Linked DNA regions of Homo sapiens: all the other regions are linked to region 4. The links are contacts of gene promoters, found by promoter capture Hi-C in blood cells and fetal thymus (Javierre and others, 2016). All regions are on one chromosome and are shown on one strand. The core of a region is centred on a gene start or on the middle of the fragment in contact, and the rest is flanking DNA. Distances in the headings are between cores, read along the strand shown.

The links. The method cuts DNA at HindIII sites, captures the fragments that hold promoters and counts their contacts. A CHiCAGO score of 5 or more calls a contact.
Region 1: a fragment that was not itself captured here is called in contact with the fragment with the promoter of TRERF1 in region 4 in 1 of 17 cell types (M0 macrophages); the score reaches 6.8 in M0 macrophages.
Region 2: a fragment that was not itself captured here is called in contact with the fragment with the promoter of TRERF1 in region 4 in 3 of 17 cell types (M0 macrophages, M1 macrophages and M2 macrophages); the score reaches 8.3 in M0 macrophages.
Region 3: a fragment that was not itself captured here is called in contact with the fragment with the promoter of TRERF1 in region 4 in 1 of 17 cell types (M1 macrophages); the score reaches 6.3 in M1 macrophages.

Annotation. Positions count from the first base shown.
Region 1 is chr6:42,265,335-42,268,034 of GRCh38, forward strand. It overlaps TRERF1 (transcriptional regulating factor 1), which reads right to left. Exons shown (of 18, transcript NM_001395490.1): 6 at 417-463. Among named protein-coding and RNA genes, the nearest start is that of MRPS10, 49 kb to the left of the region's middle. The HindIII fragment of the contact is 5,156 bases long and covers 1-2,700 here.
Region 2 is chr6:42,247,084-42,249,859 of GRCh38, forward strand. All of the region lies in intron 13 of TRERF1 (transcriptional regulating factor 1), which reads right to left. Among named protein-coding and RNA genes, the nearest start is that of MRPS10, 31 kb to the left of the region's middle. The HindIII fragment of the contact is 1,332 bases long and covers 688-2,019 here.
Region 3 is chr6:42,225,848-42,228,653 of GRCh38, forward strand. TRERF1 (transcriptional regulating factor 1) reads right to left here. Exons shown (of 18, transcript NM_001395490.1): 18 at 1-2,806. The coding sequence ends at 2,498. All of the region lies in intron 1 of LOC105375061 (a long non-coding RNA gene), which reads left to right. Among named protein-coding and RNA genes, the nearest start is that of MRPS10, 9.4 kb to the left of the region's middle. The HindIII fragment of the contact is 1,673 bases long and covers 481-2,153 here.
Region 4 is chr6:42,450,525-42,453,224 of GRCh38, forward strand. TRERF1 (transcriptional regulating factor 1) reads right to left here and starts at 1,402. Exons shown (of 18, transcript NM_001395490.1): 1 at 1,150-1,402; 2 at 653-737. LOC124900214 (arf-GAP with GTPase, ANK repeat and PH domain-containing protein 2-like) reads left to right here and starts at 1,836. Exons shown (of 4, transcript XM_047419627.1): 1 at 1,836-2,700. The coding sequence starts at 2,297. It overlaps LOC107986596 (a long non-coding RNA gene), which reads left to right and starts at 1,836. Exons shown (of 5, transcript NR_171668.1): 1 at 1,836-2,101. RefSeq lists silencers at 1,867-1,946, 2,417-2,700. The HindIII fragment of the contact is 2,023 bases long and covers 934-2,700 here.

The sequences.
Region 1 (2,700 bases), core at 25-2,524, 190 kb before region 4:
TCTCAAAACCTAGCTCTATGCTTGGCACACAGTAGGCACTCAATAAATACTGAATGAATGCACAGTGGACAGAACATGGGCTTTGCAGTCAATCCCAGCATTGTTACTTGATATGTAACCTTAAGCTCTTTGAGCCTCAGTTTTCTCATCTGTAAAGTAACAATCATAATAGCTAACAATTATTGAGTGCTTACTGAGTATAGGCACATCGTAATCACACCCACCCTCATAGGTTACTTTACTATACATAATGCCTAGTGCTTAGCCCATAGTATGCACTCAAACACAACAGCTGCTATTATTATTTCTACACACTTCTTTGAGGAATGACTTGGAATTTAAAAATGAATCATGAGAGACACCCCAGAAAATCCTCCCCGTCTCCCAAAATACCAACAAGGTTCCACTCATCCTACCTTGACTCAGGGGACCCTGGCTGGGCTCTCCCATCAGGTAGGTGCATCTAATTTTGAGCCAAACAGGACACCGAAAAAAAGAAGAGAAAAAAACGTGTTCTGAAGGGAGAAGTCCTCGAGCAGTGGGAACACCAGGTACTCTTCCAGGACTCTTTCTGCTGTCTGCTTCGTGCTGACCCCATTCATGTCCACTCACTCCCTCACTCTTCTGCAATTGACTTCTGTCCCTGAATTGCTCCTTGACTTGGGACCACCGCCCCACTCCTGGAGCTGCTGCCAGCCACAACAAGCCCACCAGGATGCAACTCCCCCACCGTGTTTTTTCCTGTTCTCCCAGGGCACCCACTCTGTGCACAGACAGACTCCATTCCCATAAGGGACACAGAAGAAAGAGGTGGGAGACGCAGCATTATGCCAGGAGACCCCCTGATGGAATTCTTTTTTTTTTTTTTTTTTGAGACAGGGTCTTGCTCTGTCACCCAGGCTGTAGTGCAGTAGCATGATCATGGCTCACTGCAGCCTCCACCACCTGGACTTAAGCAATCCTCCTGCCTCAGCCTCCCAAGTAGCTGGGACTACAGGTGTGCGCCACAACACCCAGCTAAATTTTTGATTTTTTGTAGAGGCAAGGTCTCGCTATGTTGCTTAGGCTGGTCTCGAACTCCTGGGCTCAAGTGATCCTCCTGTCTTGGCCTTCCAAAGTGCTTGGATTATAGGTGTGAACCACCATATCTGGCCCTGGAATTCTTCTTAAAAAGCCTTAGCCAAATCATCTCATTCTTATATTTACAAAGGCTCTCAGTTACCACTGGTTCTGAACCCCAGACAAAACAAACTCAAGGGGAAGTTCATCTCTGGCCTTCAACCTCCATCAGAACTTTCTTTCTATCCAACCAGTTCCCATTTGGGGTCACCTCCTCCTCAGACACTGCTGTCATGTGACTGTATGCCTTGGAATAAGCCAAGGCATGAAAAGTGCCCAGCACATAGTAGGCTGTTTTCTGGTCAAATATTTTTGGGAACAAATCAAGGGTTAATCATGGTGCACAAGATGAACCGGCCTGCAGACATGTTTGTTTGGCTAGACTGTTTTTTAAAAACCCTTAATGAGAATGCTATGGGATGGGGCATCTGCTCTCTAGTTCACAGTCACCACCACTGCCTAATGTCTCATACCAGACAGTTTTGCTTATTTACTTTCCCAGCCTGGATCATGTGGGCAGCTAAGGTTTTCATCTCCACAATCACACATGGTATCTGCGAGACTCACAATGCATACTACCATATTAAAGGTCACAAAAAGTCCTGCAGTACAGCACCCTGTTTCACTTTGGGAGGCTAAAGCAGGAGGATCGCCTGAGGCCAGGAGTTCAAGAGCAGCCTGGGCAACATAGGGAGACCTGTCTCTACAAAACAAAACCAAACCAAAGAAAGTGCTCAGGCCCAGGTGGCATGCACCTGTAGTTCTAGCTATGTGGGAGGGTGAAGTGGGAGGATCGTTTGAGCCCAGGAGTTCAAGGATGCAGTGAGCTATGACTGCATCACTGCATTCCAGCCTGGGTGACAGAGCAAGACCCTGTCTAAAAAAAGAAAAAAGGGGCCAGGCACAGTGGCTCACACCTGTAATCCCAGCACTTTGGGAAGGTAAGGCAGGCGCATCATGAGGTCGGAGTTTGAGACCAGCCTGACCAACATGGTGAAACCTTGTCTCTACTAAAAATACAAAAACTTAGCTGGGTGTGGTGGTGTGTGCCTGTAATTCCAGCTACTTAGGAGGCTGAGGCAGGAGAATCACTTGAACCCAGGAGGTGGGGGAGGTTGCAGTGAGCCGAGATGGCGCCATTGCACTCCAGCCTGGGCTACAGGGTGAGACTCCATCTCAAAAAAAACAAAAACAAAAATAAAAACAAAAACCCTGGTGTATTTATCCTGAGAACCCACTGTTTCCCCAGCAATATCCATTAAACACTGTGGAATGGCTGTTCTGAGCAATATACTTTGAGAAATGCTGTCATAACGTGGTCTCCCTCCCAAAGGGGGACCAATGTCACAGAGCATATCCAGAGCACACAGATCCAAGGGAACTGAGACACCAACACTGTGTGGTCCCCTGGCATGTGACTCAAGGTCTTGACCATTACGTGAATCATTTAGGGCATGATGTGGTACTCTGGCCATCTCCTTAGTAGATTATAAGCTCCATGGCCAAAGGACTTAATAGAGATTGATTTTGTATTCCAAGTGCTTGGCACAGACAGTGCGTGACACATGTAGGTTAATGTTT
Region 2 (2,776 bases), core at 104-2,603, 200 kb before region 4:
GCCAATGGGGCACAAAGGAGAAACACCACACTCAGGTTAGGGCCAGGGCAGCCAGGAGGGCTTCCAGCTAGAGAAAACATGAGTTGAGTTTTAAAGGTCACATAGAAGCAAGTCAGATCATAAGGAGATGGAAGAGTATTCTGGTGAGAGGAAGCAGGATGTGCAAAGTCAGAGGCAAGAGTGAAGTCATGCACTTCAGTTGTTCATTCAACAGATATTTATTAGGTGTATATTACAAGCAAGATGCTGTACTAGGAAAAATAGCTTAACATTTCTAAGTGCTTACTAAGTGGCAGGTTCTAAGTACTTCAGTTATTCATCATTAGGTTCTACTAACAATCCTGTAAGATTGTTAGGATGATGAGCCCATTTGACAAATGAGGAAATGGAGGTTTTCAAAGAACGACTAGTAATCTAATCTGGTTCAAGTATAAGGTTCCAGCAGAAGCAGATGAGGCTGGAGAGGTGAGTGGAGCCAGTTCTTGACAGATTTGCCGACCGAAGAGGGAGAGGCTTCACTGCTGGGCTGGTGCATCTTCCTTACTGGCTAAACCTGATATTTATGTCTTTTTCCTCCATGAAAGAAAGCACGATATGCAGATAATAATATAAAGTTATACTGGCTTGTTTGGGGCAAGAAATAAGGCCTACTTCTAAGGGGACTCCTATTTCTGGAGGCTCTAGGGAAGCTTCCACCACTGTGGCTGGTTCAGAGAAAACTCAGTCTTATTCTTCTGGCCTGCTGAATTCTCCACATCTCTGATTCTTTGGATGGTATTTGGCCAAGGCTTTGACCTCACTACACTTCTCTAGACTTCATTAGTGGGGTACACTAGTACCCTACCTCACTATACTTCATTAGTGGGGTACACTAGTACCCCAAATCATAATATCTTTCCTCCCATTCCGGGCGAGTCCAAGGTTTCCATTTTGCTATGGTCAACTGATGGGACTGCAGTACAGGAAACCCTAATCGCCTCTTTCTTTGTAGGGTTTGGCCAAAATAAGTGAATCAGGCAAAAATGCTCTGGGCAGGCAGGGGCCTCCTTAGACCACAGGTGGGGAGCCTAGGGTCCTTAGAAGAATATATGGCTCAGTGACATAAACTCACATTTCTGAAATAAACAACTTCCTTGTGCAGCTCTTTGATGGGTCCTCAAGCCAGGAGCTTTGGCTCCAGACTCAGAATATGCTCTCCACAGCTGGGCGGGGTCAGACATCTACAAAAGCAGGGCCACCACCCAATTTATTTGGTTTGCAAACTTATCTTTTTCTTTTTTTTTTTTGGAGATGGAGTCTTGCTCTGTCACCCAGGCTGGAGTGCAGTGGCGAGATCTCGGCTCACTGCAACCTCTGCCTCTTGGGTTCAAGTGATTGTCTTGCCTCAGCCTCCTGAGTAGATGAGATTACAGGTGCGTGCCACCACACCTGGCTAATTTTTGTATTTTTAGCAGAGATGGGGATTCACCAAGTTGGCCAGGCTGGCCTTAGCTCCTGACCTGAAGTGATCCGCTTGCCTCAGCTTCCCAAAGTGCTGGGATTACAGACGTGTGCCACTGTGCCCAGCTGCAAACTTATCTCTTTACTTCTAGAAGGAAAGCAGCTTTCCCATGAATACTCAGCAGAAGGGAGTCATCTTCCATGGGTTCCAGAGGGCTGGACAGCTCTGACCGTGCAGACCACAGTAACACGGAGCCTCAGGGGGGCTGGGGGTTTGGAGAATACTTGCCGGAGTGCATGTGAGCACAGGGGGTTGGTGGGATTTGAGGCTCTATATCACTTCCATCACCATTCTTCAAATTCTGTCCAACATTCAAAGCCTTGGGGTCCCCTTACCCAGGAACAGAGGTAGAAAGAAGGACACAGAAAGGAATCACCAACAATTCAGTTCAACAACCAAACAACCGTCATGGTTCCTTTTAGGTATCCACCAAAACAGCAAACGGGTAAGAGGAGTCAGAAAGATAATGATGGAAGGAAGACCACAATGGCGGTCTGTCATACCAGCTGACTCACACAAGCTTACACAGAGGTTGCTCTGCTGCCCTGCTGCAGGTCCAGAATCCGTGTGGCCCTCAGCTGCATCTCCGATGGGGAATCAGGGGACATTTTGCTGATGAAACCCTCAACTAGATCAATGATAATTCTTTCCAACCTCAACCAGACCATCAGTTTCCTAAGTTAGAGTGCAGCTCTGAGACATGACAAGACACTAACAGGGCCATCCAGCCTTCTCAGCCAGTCTCTGCAGTGGATATACTTTTTTCTACCCACCAGGCTCATTACCTGATTTCTGGCCCCAAAAGCAGTGTTCAGTTCCCAGGCCTGTCGATTTCTGAGAAGCATGTCCCTTCATGTTTCCAAATTGCTTGCCAGATGCAACTCCACTGGTGATGTAACTTCCTGGCCCATCTGTTAGGAGAGATCCCCAAACCTCGTGGGGGAAGGAGACCTTCTCCCTGCTGATTCCTGGTGGTTTTTAAGACTGCTGCTCTGTCATAGGATTTGGTGGCTTCCTGATTCCGGAGTGTGCATTCTGTACAACTCATCCTGAGATGGAGTGGGCTGCATGTTCTCCCTGCCCCTCTATGTCACTCTCCCATTCCAAGGGATACAGGGCTGGGTCAGGGAGCACAGTCTTAAGACAGTAAGAGGTGGCTCTTCTGCACAGTCCTAGGCTTTGTGCTTTGGTGCAAATGATAGTGCTCTGTGTGTGCATGTGTTAGTGTCTGCTCAACAGGGTGTCCACAAATTGAGGGACAGAGCCTTGGCCGGG
Region 3 (2,806 bases), core at 67-2,566, 220 kb before region 4:
ATATCTGTTAACTTTTTATATACAAGCTTTCTCAAAGAGGTCTAAATTCACTAATGAAAAACCATCTGATAGTAAACAGTAACCGAGTTGAGACATTAACCATTAGGAAGAAAAGATCTTTGGGGTGGGGTAAGGGGAGAAGCTAAAACACAACACATACATGCAGGCAGAATTATTTCAGAAAAAAAAATAAGTGCAACATTGTACTAGGAAGTCCATTCTTTAAGTTGATAGTCAAGAAATACTAATTCAGGAATTTGAACTGTCTCGTTAAGGAGGAGTTCTTTGGTTGTTTCAAGTCAAAAATCCTTATGCTATACTGCATGGAAAATTATAAGTAAGCTGTGCATTCTATTTTTGCCATGGCAACTGAGTTTATTTTTTAATGTTTAAAACTGGAACAGCTGGGCAAATCTCTAAACAGAGGCAATACATTTGCTTTATAAACACTTTTCTGGATGTTTGCTCCTTTGATAGATAAGCTTCCATAGACCCAATAGCAGCACCCTTCTAGGCTTACCCTCAGACACTAAGTGGAGGGCAGTAGTCCCTGGGAGAGACGATCAGCCAAGGATATGACAGCTGTAATGGTTCGGCCACAAAGTTGATGCACACTGCCCAGGCAGTTCCTGACTCACAACTGCTTGGATAAAACAGGATAGCATAACCTTTCTGAAATGGCAGCAAATGAAACTTTTTTCCCCCTCTAAACAAAAGATGTAGGAAAACGCCAAGACCTCTTTGAAAATAGAATGATGGAAAAGAATTTTATTTTTTTTTCTGTCCATGGCTTTCCTGAAGTTCAGAGACCACTGTCTGTGTGGGGCTGCTGTGGCTCACAGCCAGTTCCCCCCCATGAGTGTGTGCTAAATGCTTTTGCAGAGTCAAAGACGTCAGGTCCTACTCTCATGCTTCTGCTGATATTCTCTCTCATGTCAAGCTATGAATGTTGTCAGCAAAGTGGCCCAGCGTGATAGGCACACCTACGTGGAGCTGGGAACCAGCATACCTGGGGTGGGCGATGCCTGAAAACACCGGCCCAGGAAATCACGCTGCATTAACTCCAAAAGGGGAGTTGCATGAAGCAGGATCCTCTCTGTACTGGCGCTGTGTCCCAGCCTGACTTTTGCCCTAACGGTGGGATGGGTCAGTCTGACTCAGCTCAGAAGCCTGGGGCTAAATGGCATTTTTGAAGGATTACAGGTTTATTACCTTCAAGTACAAACAGCAACCCTGCTGACAGGGACAGGAGGAAGCAGAGCAAAGTCATGGAGGTTGGAGAAGTCTAGAAGTGCTTTGGTAAGTGACTTGTGATGAATACATTCATTGTTTGAATGCAAACATTATAGCTAAGGTGTATCTGAAGCCATTTTTGTTGGCCTTCAATGCTATTTGTCTTGTATTTGCTATCGTATGTGTTAGAAAACTATTTCTTATAGCTAACATCAAGGTAAACTTCAGTCCAGCGGATGTGAATTACAGCAAAATCCCAGTGAATGCGGTTTCACAGTACTTCCAAGTGGCACAAAGTAATTTCAGAACTCCACTAATCATTAACAGCGTTGCAAAAAAGAATAGGCTTTTCTGATTTGTTTTTTGGGCAATAGAACACTTTCTGGCATTCTAGGTACTTCAATATGTGTCCTTCAATCACCCTGAAGTGAAAGCAGTCCTGGCAACTTAATATTTGCCTCCAGATGGGTCTCTAGTCAGTTCATGCTGAAACACAGCTCTGCCACCCACAACTTGGAGCTGACCAGCCCCCAGGGAACATGGAAGAGGACAGGACACACCTGTTCTAGAAAACCAGGTCCTCAGTAAACACTGCTGGGAATGAAAGCCTAAAATTATACAGTACTCCATTCCTGTGAACGGGCCAAAGGATGACGGGCAACACAGGGGAAACCTGTTTTCACATTTGGTCATCTCCTCACATGTCGTGTGAGCTGGAGGAGAGCCGTGTAACACGAGGGCTTGCTTTGCCCCTGGAAAGCTGCCCCTAGCATAGTATCTCCAGGCAAAGATGCCATGCTCACTGCAAACTATGGAATGAGGTCAGAACAGAATCAAAGTAACGCTTGATGGGAAAAGTTGGCCCCAAGACCCCAGTACTAAGAGGGTCGCCTGCGTCTCACACACACACACTCACAGCAAGCTTTGGGATAAAAGGCAACCGGGATGGTTGACATCTGAATGCAATGGAACATGAAGGTCAGCTTCAGTCCCTACTGGGAATGATTTCATGAGAAGGTAGCCCAGATGAAACACCTCTTAAAGATAGTTGTGCCAATTATTTATTCCCCCAACCCCCCACAAAAACAAATTTTTTTAAATAAAAGGAAAAGAAATAGGATTTTTTTTTCTAAACCTGAATAAAATGACCACTTTTAAAACAGGTAGTTTAAAAGGGTTACAAAACAAGCAGGCAGTCCAGGTTTCCTGATTAATGAAGATGGAGGCCGTGGGTTTTCACTGTCTCTAAGTGACACACAGGGCTTTATAGTTCTGCGTCACCCTGAAGCAAGACTGAATCTTGATCATCCAAGAGAAGATCGGTGTCCACAACTTCAGCCTCTTCCATGACACCTCCCAACTGCTGGACGACGTCGTCGTCGAGGATGTCCACATCCTTGATGGGTTTGATCAGACTCAGCTGGTCCAGGGGCAGCAGCCCCGGCGCCCCCACGGGCCCCGTAGTCCTCTCAATCGTGGCTGCCATCTCAGCTGCAAAAGCCGCCTTCTGAGCCTTTTGCCTCTGTTGTTCCTCCTGCTGCCTGTGAGTTTTCATGTGTGCATTTCGGCTTTT
Region 4 (2,700 bases), core at 152-2,651:
GGAACCAGAAAGCGTTTTCTTGTAACCTAAGGATGGCAGGCGCACATGCTCCAGTCCAGTGCTGGCCAGAGGCTGCCTGCCAGGTGCTCTCGGCCTCCGCTGGTGAAGGAGTGGTTTGGTTGGTTTTTAATATCTGTTTCTTAAGACCACCGGCAGTAACTTCCCAGTCTCCCAAACTGAAGTTGGGGAGTGAAGGAACAGGTTTACCCCCTTACACATTTCTCCCATCTGGGTGGCCACACTAACTTCTGGGGAGTACCCAGCCCCCACAGAGCCCGCAGGCGCGTATACATACACATATGTATCATGTCAAAAACCCCAAAAGGCAGAGTCCTGCGGTTTCTTAGCTGGAGAATGAAGCCTTTATAACATCACAACCTCAAATGCAAGCCCACCATCACTACCTTTAAGCCAGGGTTGCCAATTATAGCGCCCACCTCATCCCTCCCCCTTTGCTGGGATGCTGTGCAGCCCGGAGAGGGAAGAAGGGAAGAAGGGAGAAGGCCTGCTTGCATAGTGAAAGTAAAGGGGGGGGAGACTTCTCCTTCTGTCTCCCCACTCTTCCCTCCCCACTTCGCCCCACCCCCGTCTTCTCGAGGAGCATCCCCAAACTAATTTTTTAAAAATGAAACTTAATAAGCTTCTTGCCTACCTTGGCTGTTTCTGCAACAAGTGCATGGGCAATCCGACGAGAAGACCAGTATCCGCTTGGGGGGTGAGATGGGGGGCGAGCAGAGCTGATGGAGTAATTTCAATATTAATTTATGTCAGCCGCCTTCTCTCAGCGCTACTCACTTACTGTACTGCCCTCAGCCTGTAAACAAATATCGCTCCGCCAGGAAACATACTCCCCAGATGCAAGCCCCTCTCCCCAGCAGGGAACCTGGCCCCTCGTCCCCCCGACAAGAGTGTGCTCCCCCACCCAGGGTAGGAAGCTTTGGGTTTCCAAAGCACCAACCCACCACCTCCTCCACCACCCCAGCAAGAAACTTACTCGGTCCGTCTACGCCTCCACCCTCCCTTCAGGAAATCTACTCTCCATATGCATTCAGCCTCCCCGCAGGAAATCTGCTCCCCCCTCCCCCCTTCTATATACATGCACCCCTCCCTCTCCTCCTCCCCATGCGCCCTCCCCGGCCAGAAACTTACTAGTGAGCAAGCGTGCAGGCTCTCCTGATGCTGGAAACTTACTCCCAGATATAGCGCCCGCCAGCCCCCTTTCCCAGCCCTGCTCCCCTTCCTGCCCTCCGCCGCAAGCAACTCCAAACTCTCCGCATCCAGCCGTTCTCCCTCCCCAGTGGAAATTTGCAGCGCCGGGCTGCGCGCGTGCATCCACCCTCCCCTTCAGGAAACTTACTCCCCATCTGCATGCACCGCCTCTCAGCCATCGCTTAGAGGGAAGGGGGTGTGCTGGGGAGACAGAAATACATATGTATCTCTCGCCCCTCCCCCGGTCGCAGCCCACTCGGGGCCGAGCCGCGGTAACCTGGCCTTACCTTTGCATTGCTCCCCATCCTCGCCCCCTCCCTTAACCCTCCTTATCCGCTCCCCGGTACCCCCCTTTTTTCACCCATTACCCACCCCTAGCAACCGTTCCCAAGCTCCTCTCGGCCTTTTTTTTTTTTTTAAATCCAGGATGCAAATTCCTCCCTTGTCAGCAAATCGACTGTCAAATTATTTTCTTGCAAAAGGAGAAAGGCGGGGTGGGGGGGGGGAGCAGGAGCAAAAAGAGGGGGAGGGCGGGGGAAGGGAGGGGGAAGGGAGGGAGAGGGACCGAGGAGGGGAGATATCCCTCCGCAGAGCTGGGTCTGGCCGCGGGCGGGGAAGCAGGAAGTAAGGTGTCCAGCGCCGCGACCGGCTGGTCGTCCGCCTCGGCCCCCGCCCGCGTCCCCTTTCCCCCGGGGCGCAGCGCTACGGCGGGCGCGGGCCGCCCGGCGCATTGTTCGCAGCCTTCGCGGCGGTGCGCTGCTGACTTTATTTGTGCGCTTTGCGTGTGCGTGAGGTTGCACCTTTTGTAGGCTGGCGAGTCTCTGGACGAGGATGGGACGGGGGACACGGGCCCAGTTGCGGCCCTGCGCGAGCGGGACCTGTCAGCCCTGAGGTGCAGCGGACCCTCCGGCATGGCCGGAAAATCGAGGCCGGGGAGAAGGCAGCGTGGCCGGGAAGCTGCCGCCTTAAACCCGGACCAGTGCAGGATTGCTTCCTGCGTAGCCGTCCCGGTTATTGTAACACGCTTTGCAAGCTAACGACTGGGGTTTGTGAGGGGGTTTGTTTATTTTTCTAAGTGTTTGCAAAGATGCCGAGGTCGAGGCGGGCTGCGAGGAGACGGTCCGCGCCTACCCCCACCGCACCCTGGCCTCGGTGGGGCTGGGAGAGGGCTGGGGCTCCGGAGAAGGGGCTGGAGGTTCGCGAAGCGCGCGTCTCCATCCCTCCGCCCCGATGGGGGCGGGGAAGGGGTGCAGTAGACCGCGCTGGAAGAGCAGCTCTCTGGGGAGGGGTCTCCCTTGCCGCGGCAGGCGCAGCAGGCCGGGGAGGGGGGTTGCCTAGGAGAGGGGCCGGGCGGCGGAGGGGAGGGGAGGAGAGGGGGCGCGGGTGCAGCCGCCGCGCGCGCTCGCCCCTCCTCGCGCGCCATGACTGTGGAACGTGGTGCCGGGGAGGAGGGACGGCCACCGGGGGCCGCCCGGGGCTGCTCGGCATTGG